Linked DNA regions of Homo sapiens: region 2 is linked to region 1. The links are contacts of gene promoters, found by promoter capture Hi-C in human tissues and cell types (Jung and others, 2019). All regions are on one chromosome and are shown on one strand. The core of a region is centred on a gene start or on the middle of the fragment in contact, and the rest is flanking DNA. Distances in the headings are between cores, read along the strand shown. Region 1 holds the start of RNPEPL1 (arginyl aminopeptidase like 1). Region 2 overlaps KIF1A (kinesin family member 1A).

Region 1 (7,871 bases), core at 3,616-6,115:
TCACGGTCTATTTTTCCAGATAGGCCTAACAGCTGGTTTTCTGTTTGCATTTCAGCTGTTTCTGGCAAAGCCTGCCGTGTCTTACATTTGTCTCTCTATCCGGATTAGATGTTGCTATATGAACACATCGGGACTGTGTCTGCAGGAAGGAGCTCCCCATTCGAGGCCTTCACAGTGTCACCCACATTCACCTCTTTCCACTTAAACGTGTCCCATGAATCTTGTCATAACAGTTTTGTGTTCCTTAACTATTTTGTCTGCCATGTCATTTATGATGTATATAACCTCTTTAATGCCTGAAATCATAAGAATAATCATCAAAGGCAAGAGGGTTGTATATTTTCCCGTTGGAGACACATCTGGAATTTGCTGCAATAAAATAATAATAAGAAAGCATTGGCAGCTTTGGTAAACTGCAGATTCAAAAATCGAGGGAGAAATGAGCACACGCTGTACTTGGCTGTACATATAATTGCTGACTGTGGGTTGCAGAAATTTCTCTCAAGCATCATCACCACTTTTGCTCAGTTATCAGTAGTAATAACAGCAATCAAAACTGAAACTGCTCCAGATGCCTGTCTAGGAAGTATGGTTTTCCATCCTTCCTACTGCTTTCTTCACAAGAGAATCCTCCACCTCAGTGGCCCTGAAGTGGCCTGAAGGGCCCGCTCTGCGGTCCTGCCACCAGTGCCCTCTGAGGTCCATGGTCCCACGGCACCACGGCCGCCCAGTGCACTCGCCTCCACACTGAGTTTTCATTTTTCCCAGTTAAGCCCCATCTTCCGGAAATGCAGCTCCAGAGGGTCTCTGTCCCCTCTTGCTGGTGGGGCAAGGGTCTGCGCATCAGACCACATGGACCCCTGCACCACCATCTGCTCCGTCCTCTCCCTCTGGTCAGCTCAGCTTATTAAACAAGCCTTGGTCAGGAAAATCTAAACCACTTAAGGAACTGGGCAGAAAGAAACTGAATGCAGGGAGAAGAAGGCTGGGGAGCCAAGGACAGGAGAGGAGACATAGGGGAGTCACAGGGACCTGCCACCCAGATCCCCACTGCCTGATGTCCTGGCTGTGGAGGGCACCTGGAGCTGCCAGCAGAGCCTCCTGCCCACCAGCTGCTGAAGCCACAGTACATCTCCTTCCTCCCACCTCCCAGACCTCTCACTGGTCTCATCTGGGCACCGAACATGGGAAGCCCCTCCTGTGACAGGCAGGGGAGAAGGAGGCTGTGCTGACAGACGGCCTGGTGAGGGAACCCGGGAGGCCTCCAGCATCTGCACCCCTCTCCTACTTTGATCTCTGTTTCACCAACATTGCACCCCAACTTAAGGTCACATAGCTACTGTCAAGCCAACAAGGTGCTGCCTCTCCCGCCGTGTGAGGGTGGAACCCCATAAGCCACCACTGGAGGCATCCAAGCATGTTGATTCCTTCTCTAGTTCAGACACCACCTCTCCTGGACATCCTGTGGCCTAAAGACTATCCTAGAATCAACACTCCTTAAATAGGAGTGGGGAAAGAAAAGGAAAATGTGTGTAATACATGTGAATCACAGATAACGTAGTCATTGGTTAATATATACAACTACGCGTATTTACATTCTGTATGCGTCAATGAGTAAAATACTGTGGTTGGTGCTTATCTGCCTTTTCCAATACTCGTTCCATGTTCTACCCTCAGCCAGTGCCTAAGCTGCTTATGGCCTTCACCTGGTGGCATGACTCGATCCTTCATTTTTAAGGCCCCAGGCCCTGCATGGCTGCCCACACAGGTGCTGTGGCCTCCGTTACCTGTACTGCACCACCAGAGAGAAGTAGGAGGCACCACTCTTCCTGGCCCCCAAGCCTCACAAAGCCTCATGCCCACCTGCCAGAGCCAGCCCTGTGTTGTCTCATGCTTCCGTGGCTGGGCCGTGTCTGAGCCACCCTCCCAGTGAGACCCGATTGTGTTCCTAAGCAAAAGCATCCCACCTGGGGACCGAACATCTCTGATGCGGCAGAGCCCAAAGCTGGGGGGATGGGAAGCACGGGTTTTGTCAGCCAAGCGTGGGGGTGGTAGTGAGAAGGGCCTTCTCCCTCCCCACGCCTTGTGTACCTGGGCCTCAAGCATAGGCCACACCTTGTTGGTCGCTGCCCCTCTATGCCGTGTCACCAGCCGGCACCACCCATCGCTGTGGACCGCGGCCCCCATCACAAGCTGGTGCCCAGGGCAGTCCCCATCTCTGTGGAGGGCTTGCCTGCCGCTGGCCTCTCTAGATAAGCTCCTCATGACTCATGCAACCTTTTCATCAACCCGGAAGGAAGCAGCCGCCGGTCGCCACTAGTGGGTGAGGAACAGTGGCTTGGAGAGGAGGGAGGACCTGGGTCTGCGGTTTCCCCCGCGGCTCAGCCCTGCTCACAACACCCTGATGAAAACCTCGGCTGCCCTTGCCTCAGGGCAGGGCACACCCTTTACCTGCTGACCTGGCCCTGGTGACAAGGGGACAAGGGCAGCAGGGCCCCGGCCAGGTTGAAGGACACCTGTGGGTCACATCAGACCTTTTTAGCCCACCAGCTCCATCTGAGAACTGGTAGCTCCCTGGTCCTCTGTCGGGGTTGGGCGCGGCCCTGTCTGAACACTGCTTCTTCCTGGAAGCTTTGCTGCCCTCCCCAGCCTGCTAAAACGCTCCATGCCCACACCCACCTCCTAGTGGGTGAAGCCAGGAACCCCTCCCTCGGGTGCATCAGGGGAAGGCTGGGGTGCAGATGCCGCGCAGCCACTTCACTGCGCTGATCACCAAAAAGCTGGAGTATGAAAACTCCTGTGGGAGAAAGCCAGGGCTGACAGTCGCGACGTCCAGGCTCCTCTGCCAGGGTTAGAGAAGTCAGAGGTGTCTGCCCAGGCCTGCATGCGGCGTAGCCTCCCGCCGCCAGGGGGCGTCAGGCCGGCGGGGGCGGGGCCTCCTCGGGCGGGGCGGGGCGGGGCGGGGCCGGCGCGAGAGGCTCCCGCGGCTCAGTTGCAGACCCCGCCCCCTCGGCTCAGCCGCGCCTCCCGCTCCATGGGGTGCAGTAGGGCAGCTCCTCACATACGTGCGCGGTGGGAGGCGCTCCCTTGGGCCCCCGGGGAGGAGGTGCCACAGCAACTCTGGACTCCTGTGTGCAGAACTGGCCGCGGAGAGGTGCCCAGGGCGAGACCCCAACCTCTGCTCCCTGAGCCCAATGCGGGGCTCTGGGTGGCAAGACCCCAAGCTCCCTGTGGTGACTTGCCCCCCGGACGGCCAGGCCCAGCTAGTGTGGCACCGCGTGTGCAGAACTGAGGTTCTTCCAGCCAGGAACATGGCCCGGTGGGCTCTGGAGAGCCCCGTAGAACTGGGGGTGCCATCGAAAACAGTCTGCCCTTGGCACTGCAGGGCCCCACCGGGCAGGGCGCTGGGGGCAGTGAGGAGGGTCCCATCTCAGCTGTCTTCCCTGTCAGCCTTGGATGCGAGGCTGATCCACACCTCTGAGTGACTGTGTAAGCCTAGGGGTTCCTGGTGAGTTTGGGATGGGTGCCCCAAGATCGTGGCCGTGTCCCTAAAGAGGGCACGTGGGGACCTGAGGTCCTACGGGAAAACTGAAATGATGCCTCAGTGCTCTGTCCCGCAAACGTGAACGCACACTCTCCCTCTCAGCCTTCCTTCCCGCCCCACGGAAGGAGGGTAGACACAGAGGGTTACACAACGAGGAGACTGAGTCCAGACACAGGAAACACTACTCAGGGCTGACGCTGAGTCGAGTGCGGTACCCGAGTCCAGCCCTGCACGGCCACACCTCAATGGAGCAGAAGAGAGAGGTGTCCTGGGTTCCTGGATAGTTCCCCAGCCCCAGAAGCCCCTTGTCCCTAGGAATTTGAATTCTTACTTGATGACAACAGCGACATCATGGTGGCCCCTGTTATTCCACAGCCTCAAAATTTAACCGCTGTGAGCTCACTAGCAGCTTCTGCCAGGCGAGCACCCCTTCCCTCGGGGCTCAGGCTCCTGGACAGGCTCAGCCTTGGGCAGCCTTCGCCAGGTCCACAGAGAATGGCGTTGGGAAGGGTGGACCTGGCGGATGGGGTGGGGACAGGCGGGCCAGACCCTCCTTCGTACCCCAGCACAGGGCTCCCAAATGAGAGGTCCCCAGCACTGCCCAGAGGAACTTCTGCGATTGTGGAAATGATTCCTGCCTGCTTTGTCCATTAGCCACTCCTCCCAGGAAGACACACACACTCACTCACTCCACCTGCCACGAAGGAACTGAACTTCTAACTGTATTTAATTCGCATCTAAATGGCCACACGTGGTTGGTGGCTGCTGTAGTTGACAGCGCTGCGTGAAGGCTCCGGCGCTTCTCGCACCGCAGGGCCCACAGCACAGACCACACCTGTAGACTTGGAGGAGTGGCAGGGGTGCCAGGAGAATCCTGCCCTGCCCGTAGCCCCGGATGAAAGGATGACATTGAGTTCGCGACGCTGCGCTCCTCGGGAACACGAACCACACCTGGAAGCAGCCTGCCCCTGTGGCCCCAAGGTTCCCGGGTCCCTTCAGCGGCTGCCCCAGGGGCCTGGCCGGCAGTGTCTGGGAGGGAGCAGCGATCCCGCCTCCTGGGATCTCCCGGGCGCCGCCCGGGGAGGAAGCGAGGGGCTGGGGGTGCTGCTCACCCGCTCCGCGCGCCTCGGCTCCCAACACAGCGCCCCGGCCCCGCGCCGCGCTCGATTCCCCGGCTCCCCGCGCCCCTGGCTCCTGGCCCTCCCCGCCCGGCGCCCCGGCCCCGCGCCCCGGCCCCGCGCACAGCGCCCCCGGCGGCGGCCGAGCGGAGCCCGAGCGGGGCGGCGCACGGCGCGGGGCCGGGCCGGGCGGCTCCCGGCGCGACTTCCTGTTGTGCCCGCGCCCCGCCGCCGCCGCCGCCCGGCGCCCCTCGCCCGCGGCCCGGCGCGGCCGCCGCCCATGGATTTCACCTAGTGCCGGCGGCCATGGCCGCGCAGTGCTGCTGCCGCCAGGCGCCCGGCGCCGAGGCCGCGCCCGTCCGCCCGCCGCCCGAGCCGCCGCCCGCCCTGGACGTGGCCTCGGCCTCCAGCGCGCAGCTCTTCCGCCTCCGCCACCTGCAGCTGGGCCTGGAGCTGCGGCCCGAGGCGCGCGAGTTGGCCGGCTGCCTGGTGCTCGAGCTGTGCGCGCTGCGGCCCGCGCCCCGCGCGCTCGTGCTCGACGCGCACCCGGCTCTGCGCCTGCACTCAGCCGCCTTCCGTCGCGCCCCCGCCGCCGCCGCCGAGACGCCCTGCGCCTTCGCCTTCTCCGCCCCCGGGCCGGGGCCCGCGCCGCCGCCCCCGCTGCCCGCCTTCCCCGAGGCGCCCGGCTCCGAGCCCGCCTGCTGTCCGCTGGCCTTCAGGGTGGACCCGTTCACCGACTACGGCTCCTCGCTCACCGTCACGCTGCCGCCCGAGCTGCAGGCGCACCAGCCCTTCCAGGTCATCCTGCGGTACACCTCGACCGACGCCCCCGCCGTGAGTCCGGGGCGGGCGCCGGGGCTGCGGGCCGGTCCGCAGGGCGCTGCTAGCGGCCTCTCGCCGCACGGCCAGGCTGAGGGACGCGAATCTGCGCCCTACAGGTGCCCCCCTCCCCCCACCCCGGTGATTCCCAGCTGTTGCCTGTGAGCCCTTAGGACCCTCGGATAGAAGCCGGAGTCCTGCGGGGACACGGGACAGCATGTCACTCCGGGAAGCCTCCCGTTCAGGTGTCTGGTCCCTGCCTGGGGACATGAGCAGCTTCTGTCACCCACCGAGGTGTACATCTGCAGGATCCTGGCACCAAGGGTTGGGCTGGAGTGTCAGCTGCGGAAGGGCCTCCATGTGACCAGTGCGTGCAGATGAGTCCAAGCCAGAGGCAGAGGAAAGGGCCATGGAGATTGTGATGCTCGGTTTGGGGCTTCCTTGGCCAGCACTGGTGGAGTGTTGAGACCAGTGGGCCCCGCGACCCCAACATAGACACACATAGGCTCTGCAGGGCTTGCACACTGGGTACCCACCACTCCAGAGACTCTGCAAGAAAGGCCAGGTGGCTGAGGCTGGCGCTGTGGCTGCAGCACCCCCTCCACCTCCACCAGTGGGGATGTGTACAGGATGGAGCAGGGCCTTTCCTGCCTACAGCATGGGGGTTCATACTGCATCCCTAGGTGGTATGGACGGCACACATGTGACACCCGACATATGCAAGACACACACAGCTGTGGAGGCGCTGGGAAGTCCAGCTGTCACTGGTCACGGCACATAAATGGACAGGGTGGTGGAGAGGTGGTCGAGAGGCTTCAGGCCACAAAGAGCCAAGGTGACATCTGGGCAGGAAGAACCCAGACCAGTGCACCCCTATGGGCTTCCTGTACATTTCCCAGGAGCCCTAAGCAGGACCTGCCACCTCACCTTTTTCCCAGAACCCCTGTGGGTGTGCAGGCCGCTGGCTAGCCGGCCCCGCCCCTGCTGTGGTATTCCAGGGCTCTGACCGGTGGCAAGTATGCCTCCCAGTATGACAGGTGAGAACTGAGGGATGGGCTTCTCCTTGGCCTTGATCCGTGTTTGGAGCCCACGTGTCTGGTCCGCCCAACACTGGCCTGCAGAGTGGCCGGACCAGGGCCCTCAGCAGGCTGCTGTGAACGGGGCCCAGTGAGCAAGGGTGGCCATTGTCTCTTGGCTTCCTATGGCCTACTGGGTGGCCCTTGGGTACTCTGGGCAGGGAGAGTGGCATAGTCCCCCAAGTCTGCGTGGTGTCAGGGTTGGCAGGCTGTGGACAGGGGGCCTAGCGTCACCTGGCCTGTGAGCCGCCCTACTTGCAGAAGGCAGAGTATTCGACTCTAACCTCAGGCATGCACCTTTGTATGTGAGCGCCATGGGGCTGGGGCCACACGTAGAGTCCCCTTCTCTTCCTGCATGTTCCAGGGACTCAGGCCCAAATCCCTAAGCCTGTCCCTGTGCCAGGGAGGATGCAGCGGAAGCTCCCTGGGAGGCCCTGCCAGTGGGCCCCAGGCCCCCAGAGGCTTTTTGGAGGTGCTGCAGATGCTTGGGCCCATTCCCGCACCCCCACCCCACCCCAGCAAGAACAGCGTTCTTCCTGCCCTGCAGCGTCTGGAGCCCTTCAGCCTTGTTCCTTTTCCACCAGCCCATCAGCACCTGTGCCCGGGTGCCCTGACGGGGATTGGTGCCCCATCTGTGGGGCAGGGCCTGTCCTGTCTGGGGGTCTGCCCCAGCCCCTCACTTCAGGGCAAGTGGGGAGCTGTGGGCCCTGCTGGTATCTGGGAAGACACCCAGGCTACTGAGGCTGTGGGGTGGACATGGGGCAGTAGGGAGAGGTGTGAGTGGGCAGAGCCTGAGAAGGGCCTCAGGAGGGTGAGGCAAGGCCACAGGAGAGGAGTAGTTGTGAGGGGGCCGTGCAGGCTGAAGGGTTGGGGAGACTCCTGCAGGGAGGTTCCTTCATACAGATTCCCAGGTCCCAGCCCCCCCCAAGGGGGAGGCTGCGTTTGTGAATGGCTCCCCAGGTGGGCCCTGAACACCCTGGCAGCCCAGGGCTCAGCAGGAATGGGAGACGCCTGTGCTACCTTGCTGCCCAGCAGGGCCAGGGCACCAACAGGAAGTTTGGAAGAGATCTGAGAATGCTGGCAGGGGTCTGGCCGGGACTGCGGGGGAGGCAGCCCTCCTGGTCTGGGATCCTCCAGGCCTCAGCTGTGGATTCCACTTGTCCAGTCTTAGAAGCATGTTGGGGGCACCTTCTACTCATGGTCATGGGAGGGCCTCTGCACGAAGAGCAATTCAGTTTGCCTTGACTATCTCATTCCGGCAGAGGGGAGGGTGGATACGACGTGCAGGGCTGACTTGGGACGAAGGTGATGTGG
Region 2 (7,871 bases), core at 3,566-6,065, 140 kb after region 1:
CATTCATTTGCTCGTGTGTTGGGGATTACACAGCCATGGGGTTTTAGGATGACCTTCTCTCTTCCTTTATAGGAAAAATACTTCTGCAAAGACAAACCTCTGCTCCTTGGCTACCTGGCTATGCTTAGGTACAGTTTCTAAGGGAAGACAGGATAATGCTTGTTTCTTTTTCCTGATTTACTTGTTTCCGAAATGAGTTGCATCCTCTGATGGTTACCAGTGAGCTATTTTGAACTATTTTTTTTTTACTATTTTTTAATTGTCATTATAAACCAATAGATGTAATCATATTACATGTTGTATTCGTTTGTTTTCATGTTGCTGATAAAGACATACCCGTGACTGACCAATTTACAAAAGAAAGAAGTTTATTGGACTTACAGCTCCACATGGCTGGGGAGGCCTCACAATCGTGGCAGAAGGCAAGGAGGAGCTAGTCACATCTTACGTGGATGGCAGCAGGCAAAAAGAGAGGTTGTGTAGGGCAACTCCCATGTTTTAAAACCATCAGATCTCGTGAGACCCATTCACTATCACGAGAACAGCGCAGGAAAGACCCGCCCCCATTATTCAGTCATCTCCCACTGGGTCCCTCCCATGACACATGGGAATCATGGGAGCTACAAGATGAGATCTGGGTGGGCACACAGGGCCAAACCATATCACATGTGTTCCAGTCATCACATTTATTAGCCTTACTGATGTTCAAAGTGTCCCAATCTTAGGCCAGTGGGAGCCTCTAAGTTGGATCCTGGGTCCTTTTGACACAACTCTTGAAGTCTGACAATGACTTTGGGTCCTATTGGCAAAACTCTTAGAGTGTGATAATGTTTTTGTTGAAAAGATTTTCATGATAATCTTGTGCAATTCTCATCCCCGCTCTGGAACTAGTGATTTCTCCCAGTGTTAGAGAGAAGTTCTATTTAGACAATACAATCTCGGTTCTAGGAATGTGTCACTGTTAAGGAGCTGGTTGTTGTTTCCAGGCCTTTTCAATAGATGGAACTAGGAAATGTGTATTTTTTAAAGAAAAATGAAATCTATCATATCTTCATATTGACCCTTCAGATTCAAATTCAGGCTATTTGTGGTTTTCCCATGGATTCTTTTGGGATTTCCAGATATGTAATTCTATCATCTGCAAAAGAGATAATTTTTACATTTCCTTCTCTGTTTTTATCCCTCTGATTACTTTCTCTTGTGTAAAGAAATTAGCTAGTAATTCAAAACGCCATTGAATAGTGGTGATGCTAGCATGCCGTTCTGCTCTGTTCCTAGCTTTTCTGCATCTGTGGTGATGACCATTTTTTCTTAGCTCTATTGATATGATGGATTTTATTAATAGATTTCTTGATATGAAGTGACCTCTTCATTCCCAGAGTAAACTCTACATGGTCATATCATGCGAGAGAGGTTAATTATTTGATGACATAAATGAAATCACTATTAGAGATAAGTGAAATGAATGGGAAAGGAGTTTCAAAGTGTGTTCTTGTATCATGAAGTCCTCAAGGTCATCCCTGGTTCAGAGACTTTCTGGAAGGATGCACAGGATCTAGCATACAGTGGTGCCATGGCTGAGACTGGTTACGGCAAAAGGCTCTGAAACCACATCTGTGAACGGAAAAAGCATGGGGTGCAAAAGGCATGGGGCGTGGTGTGAAGAAAACCAGGCTCGTGCTTCCAAGGCCTCTCTCCCCACAGAGTAACACAGGACGTGTTTCATTCCCAGCAACGCTGCATGGCCGTCCATATTAAGGGCTCCCCGTCGGGGAGCTCAGTAGAGACTCAGTGCCTGTGGTGTTGACCAGAAGCTGGCCATGCCCTGCCTGGAACACACCAAACTCCAGACTCAGAAGGAAAGTGCATCGAGGGCTATAGTATTTGTACAGTCTGGGCACAGTGAACCCTCATTGTCATTCAGGGAACAGTTCAAGTGCCAAGTTCCCAGAAGCCGTCTGAGGCTCCACCTCACAGCAGACATTTAAAGAATAGCAGGTGCAAGCCTGTTGGGCTAATTCTTTTCTGCAAAATGCCCAAGATTAGAAATTTTGAAAAATAAACTATATTTGACTTTAAAAGATATTCAACATAATTTTATAAGGCAAAATAAAATATTATCAAAACAGAAAAATTACAAAGTTAGAAAATTAAAACATATGACAAAGGAATGAGCTATCTGATATATGTGTAACTGACTGCAAATTAAGAGGAAAATTTGGCCAGAGACATAATAGGCAAGTCACAAAAGAAATAAAAATAATCTGGCTGGGCGCGGTGGCTCACGCCTGTAATCCCAGCACTTTGGGAGGCCAAGGTGGGTGGGTCACTTGAGGTCAGGAGTTCAAGACCATCCTGGCCAACACGGTGAAACTCTGTCTCTACTAAAAATCCAAAAAATAGCCAGGTGAGGGGGCAGGCACCTGTAATCCCAGTTACTCGGGAAGCTGAGGCAGGAGAATCACTTAAACCCTGGAGGCGGAGGTTGCAGTGAGCTGAGATTGCACCACTACACTCCAGCCTGGGCGGCAGAGTGAGACTCCATCTCAGAAAAAAAAAAAAAAAAAAAAAAAAAAAAATATATATATATATATATATATATATATATATAAAACACATGAAAATAATTTAGCAACACTAATAAATAAAATTGAAAAATGATAAGGTGCCACTTACCACCTGCCAAAGGGGGAGGACTAAAAAGACTCAGACATGCAGTGAGACGATGATGGGCTTTATGTTCAGAAGCCGTGTGTGTGTGTGCGCACATGTGTGCACACGCGTGCCACACACACACACACACACACACACGTAAGATGCACATATGAATTTATATAAACTCCCACACAGTAATTCCAGCTAGGACTTTGTCCCCAAAAGTAGGATAAGAGCATGGTTTCATGTGTAAGGACCCATGTCGCTCTGTTGTTTACTGTACTGGAAAGTACAGTTTGGAAGAATCAGGAAAGCACCAATTCACTCCACACACGAGAGGAGGAAGGTGTGGAGTGCAGAGCAGGCAGGAAGCTGGGGGGTGCTCTCAGGCCAGGTCCTGGAAGCCCACACTGCGGGGAAGAGGGGCAGCTCATGGGAATTCTTCTTGGGAAATACCATTTGCTGTGCAGTGGGATCCTCTGACACCCCACACACCTATAAAGTCAAGATCTCCTGGCTGGGGGCCTGGCGGGCTCCAGGTGGTGGTTGGTAGGGAGAGGAGAAGGCCACGGGGGTGAGGGGTTAAGTCCCTGCTTCCTGCGTCCTGGACTGTAGACAGGACATGCCTGCGCCCCTCTGGCCCTGGGTCCAGTTGGGTCTAACTGGCCAATGGGTGTCACCCCAGTAGGATGAGGAATCTGCTGGATCCTGTCTGGGTGTCCCCAAGGCCGGGGCTCAGCTCCCCAGAGACACAACGCGTCCAATGGACACGTGAGCCTCCAGACACCCACACTGTGGCTTGGTCTGCTCCAGGCTCCACGGAGCCAGCCTTAAGGTCTTGGGGAGAGGAGAGCACAGGCTGGATGGGCCAGTGAGGTTCAGTCCAGGGTTCTGGAACCATCTCAGGGTCTGGGCCTCAGTTTCAGGATCTGCCGCACAGGCAGGAGCTAGGGAGCCTCCCCAGGGCCTGGACTCAGCATTCAGACTCCAGCTCACAGGGGACACAGGAGGGGCCCTGGGCCAAGTCAGGCTTTTGGGGCAGCAGCAGGAGGTGTCAAGATGGGCAGGAGGCTGGAGCAGAAGGGAGCCAGGTGCATTACGGGCCACCTCTCCCTGGGGACTGGGTTGGGTTATCACTGGCTGTCTGCACAGGGGTGGACTCTGTCCTCAAGGCTGGGGCTTCCAGGCTTTTCTGCCCTCTACACATCCTGGAGGCTGTGAAAGCTTTAGTCGACACCCCTAAAGGACCGCCCCCAGTGCAGGAGTGACAGTGGCCATCTGCTGAGTTAAGACGTGAGTCTGTCTGTCCGTGTGAGTCCACTGTGCCACCAGCCCTCGCTGGACGGCAGCAGAGACTTGCAGGCATCAAAAGGGTCTGAATGGCTCCCAGGCCTCAGAGAACCACCAGCCAGGGCTGCACTGAGGCACCAACATGGACAGAAAGACCATCCCAGCCAGGAGAGAGTGCAGCTGGGGAGTGTGAACCAGGCCCCACAGGGCACAGGATGACCGTGCCCAGCTTAGCACTGCCCTGGACACAGAAGTGGTCCCAGGTCCCAGAGCCCGGTCACACCGCTGGTGGAAGGCACCAACCATGAAAGCCCAGCGCCACTCAGCCCACACTCCTGGTTCTACTCCCTCGTCTTCCAGAACCTTCGGACGATGGGTGTCATCCCTGGGGCCCCAAGAACAAGGTCAGGTGGAAGCAGAGGTAGCGACAGGTTTCTCCTTAACACTGGAAGGCACAGCCAATTGTTACTTAATGTTTTGTTAGTTTCATTCATTGTTTTAAAAAACAGAAACCTTCTACAGCACTTAGTCTGTGTCAGGCCCCGTCCTACGCCTTTTCCAAAGCTAACTCATTTATCCTCCTCAACCAGTGAGGAGGCCGCTATGATTCTGCCCAGTCACTGAATTCTGGTTTGATTTGCTTCTCACTCTTAATTTTTAAAGAATTACACGGGTAACACAAATTCATTGTAGAGAAACTAGAAAATCCGATGAATAAAAAGGTTTTTTCTTTATTTTTCATTTTAAAATAATGGTAGGCTCACAGGAAGTTATAAAAAAAAAAAAACAGCACAGAGAGGAACTGTGTGCGCCCTTCACCCAGCTGGCAAAAAGTTCTGTCTATAATCTCAGGACTGGAAGACTACGACCTCTCAGACAGGAGGAGTCCACACAGGTTGAACGGTATCTATGTCAGCCCTGACACAGCCCCTCCCACCTGTAGCCAGAGGGTGGCCCCACACAAGGCCCCGGAGCCCCCGTGCCAGCCAGTAGGGTCCACCTCCCAGGCCCACTGAGAGGCGTTGCCTTCCGAGCAGGTGCCACCCTCACTGAATGTCCTGGAGATGGCTGTCGCCTGTGACAAAGCCACTCACCTCTGGAGGGCCTGGGGGCTCCTAAGGACTGGGGGCCCTGCCCAGAGTCCCCCAAAGTGCAAGGCTGTCACCCCATCCTCCCATCGGCCATCAGTGTGACGCTGGTCCACAAACTCCTGCCATACCTTGGACAAGACTAAGGCCCTCGTGTGCAATGGTGCGGCCTCTGGAACTCCAGGAGGCTCTGAGGATCTGGGCCCAGGCGCAGACCCCATGGACTAGAGACTCTGAAGGGTCCAGGCCTGAGGCTGCCTGGGATGGGTGCAGTGGCCTGGTATGAGGGTGGTAGGTGCTGTGTCCCTGGGGAGGTGCCTGGGGCTGGTTCACAGGGGTGCAACCGGTCACGGGAGGCAGGTGGAGGTTGATCCTCCAAGACCAGCACCCTGTGTACACTCAGTCTTCGACACCTTCCCCACCACCTCCCCATGCCCACCTCGAGAGCCAGCCCCTCCCTGCCTCATCACTGGGAGAGGGGTACTGTCTCTGGACCACGCTGGATGCATGCACCTACAGCCATTTTCCGGGGCCCTGCAACACACGTAACACGCAAATAAAGCCACAGCAGAGCCCATGGGACTGTGTTGAGTAAGAGCCACATTTATTTCTTAATTGGACAGAGCCTCAAGTGCACGCACAGTACAGGAGCCTAGGGCTAACACTCGGGTGTAAGACATCGGGACAGGCGTCGTGACGTCGGGACGGCAGCTATGACATGGGGTCTGGGGTGTGCCCACAGCAATCACATATGTACAAGCCAGGGACGCGGCCTCTGAGCCACAGGGGAACCAGGGGACGGACTAACTACAGGAAGCACAGGCCCAGGGAGAAACGCAGGTCGCCACAGCTGCTGTCCGTCTGGGGGACCGCACGGCCCGGCACCGGGGGTAAGGGAGTGTGCCTTCCGTGGTCCCCACATGGGTGAGGCTGGCATAGGACCAGTGCAGCAGCACAGTAAACACCTGTGACATCAGCCCCACCAGGGCCCCAGGTGCTGGGGACTCCAGGGACCAGGGTTGACAGGGAGGGCCACCTCATCACAGCCGTCCTGGGTGGGGGAGTTTGTGCCTGTGCAGCCGGTGGATGAAACATTGGCATCTTCTCAGCGATGACTCCCAGTGGGAGGCCTTGGACTTGGCACCCCTAGGCACTGGCCGTGTCCCATCAGATCCCAAGTGCTGGTCGGCCTGGAGCCCGGCATCCCCATCTATCTGGAGCCGCAGCGGAAGGAGCTCCCCCTTTCTGGTGGAGGATGGCTGCCCCCAAACCAAAACAAGCCCCCAGACTCGGCAGTATAAAGCATTAAATGAAACCATCTGAGGGAGACGGCTTTCCAGATCTGTCTCACCTCCCCCACTTAGCAGGAAGCAGCAGCCACCCTGGGCCTGGCTGTCTCCCAAGCACCGCACCCCATGAGCACCTCCACACCAGCCCTCCACCTCACAGATGTGGAAACCGACTCCTGGGGAGCTCAAGGAAGGCAGCTAACGTGGTCCCTAGGTGGTTTCTGGCAGAGCGAACTTTTCAAGAAGCCAGGTGTCCTGACTCAGGCGGCCTCCTCTCACCATCAACTCTGAGTTTCTGGGTCCTGGCTTAGGCACTCCTCACTAGAGCAGGCCCGGAAGGAGGGAGTCGGCGGAGGCTGCAGTGTGGCTCTGGGTCCTAGCCAAGGCCAACACGGCACCTGGCTGAGAGGACACAGCCAGGCAGTCTCCATGGCAGTGGAGGCTTCTGAATTTAGGCAGCTCCCAGGCACCTCCACTCAGCCCACCCACGCCGCGAGTGCTCTGCAGGTTGGCTGGCCTCAGACACCTGCGACCTGGGGGGTGCGCCCAGACCCTTTGGAGGCCACAGCCTCAGGCTGGCTGACCTGAGTTGGCCGTGGCAGGGCCTGTGCCTCCTCTAGCCTGCCTGGGGCCCGTGGGGCTCCCCCTCATCTCAGACCAGCGTGTCCTGCCCTGCCTCTCCTTCCTGCCTCCAGGCAGCGCTGGATGCCGGAGCAGGTGCTTCTGCAAGAAGCTGTTCTGCATCCTCTCCTTGCTGCATCTTGGTCCACTGCCTCCAGAGGTCACCCATGGGGAGCACAGGCCACCTGGCTTCTGAATTTTATTTTGGGATGTGAATCCTCACCTGGGAGATTTCCAAAGAAAGCTGCTGTGTCCTGTGTCCTGCCTTCCCAGGCGTGGCTTCCCGAGCCCTGATTCTCCCTCACAGAACCCCCCCATCAGCCCCTGGGAGAGCCTCCCAGGCAGGGGATGAGGGTGGCGGTGGCCACACCGCACCTGAGCCCAGGTACGAAAAGGCGAGCCCACAGTCCCAGCTCCCAAACAGGCTGGCCCAGGCAGGCAGCCACAGAGACTGCAGCCAGCATGGGCCCTGGCCTGCCCTGCACACCACTCTCGGAGATGGAACTTCAGGGGCCCAAACAACCTTCCCAAAGGAAAACCTCATGCCAGAGCCTTCCCATGTGGTGTAGAAGGCCCGTGCTCCCCCACTCCTGAGCCGCTGTCTCTCCCCCAGGCATGGGATTGGGGTCTCTGAGGCTCATGTCAGCATCACGTGGGACAGCCTGGGAGGGTAGGGGCCTCAGAACCAGTGGGGTGCTGCGTTTCCCCCACTCCAGGAGGCAGGATCTGATGAAAGTGCTGGGCCCTAGGTCTGGAGCACCAGACCCGATGTAACTGCTCCCACGGGCCACGGCGGGAGAGGGGCTCTGTTGCTTGGCTACTGTCTTTCCTTGAGCTAAAAAGAGACCAAATCGACCTGTGGGTGTGGGTGGGGAGGGCCCTAAAACCTCCCTAGGCCTCTGGACATGACTCCTATGACCAGACTCTC

The links. Contacts are between HindIII fragments. The study calls those that stand out against the background at their distance.
Region 2: a fragment that was not itself captured here is called in contact with the fragment with the promoter of RNPEPL1 in region 1 in 1 of the 25 tissues and cell types used here (dorsolateral prefrontal cortex).

Annotation. Positions count from the first base shown.
Region 1 is chr2:240,563,619-240,571,489 of GRCh38, forward strand. RNPEPL1 (arginyl aminopeptidase like 1) reads left to right here and starts at 4,866. Exons shown (of 11, transcript NM_018226.6): 1 at 4,866-5,496. The coding sequence starts at 4,969. It overlaps DUSP28 (dual specificity phosphatase 28), which reads left to right. Exons shown (of 2, transcript NM_001370465.2): 2 at 1-1,638. RefSeq lists enhancers at 1,003-1,152, 1,283-1,362, 5,313-5,951, 5,823-6,002, 5,952-6,590 and silencers at 2,833-3,072, 4,583-4,842, 4,873-4,932, 5,073-5,262, 5,503-5,552. The HindIII fragment of the contact is 6,553 bases long and covers 242-6,794 here.
Region 2 is chr2:240,708,151-240,716,021 of GRCh38, forward strand. KIF1A (kinesin family member 1A) reads right to left here. Exons shown (of 49, transcript NM_001244008.2): 49 at 5,617-7,871. Among named protein-coding and RNA genes, the nearest start is that of AQP12A, 20 kb to the left of the region's middle. RefSeq lists an enhancer at 3,764-4,571. The HindIII fragment of the contact is 6,199 bases long and covers 1,717-7,871 here.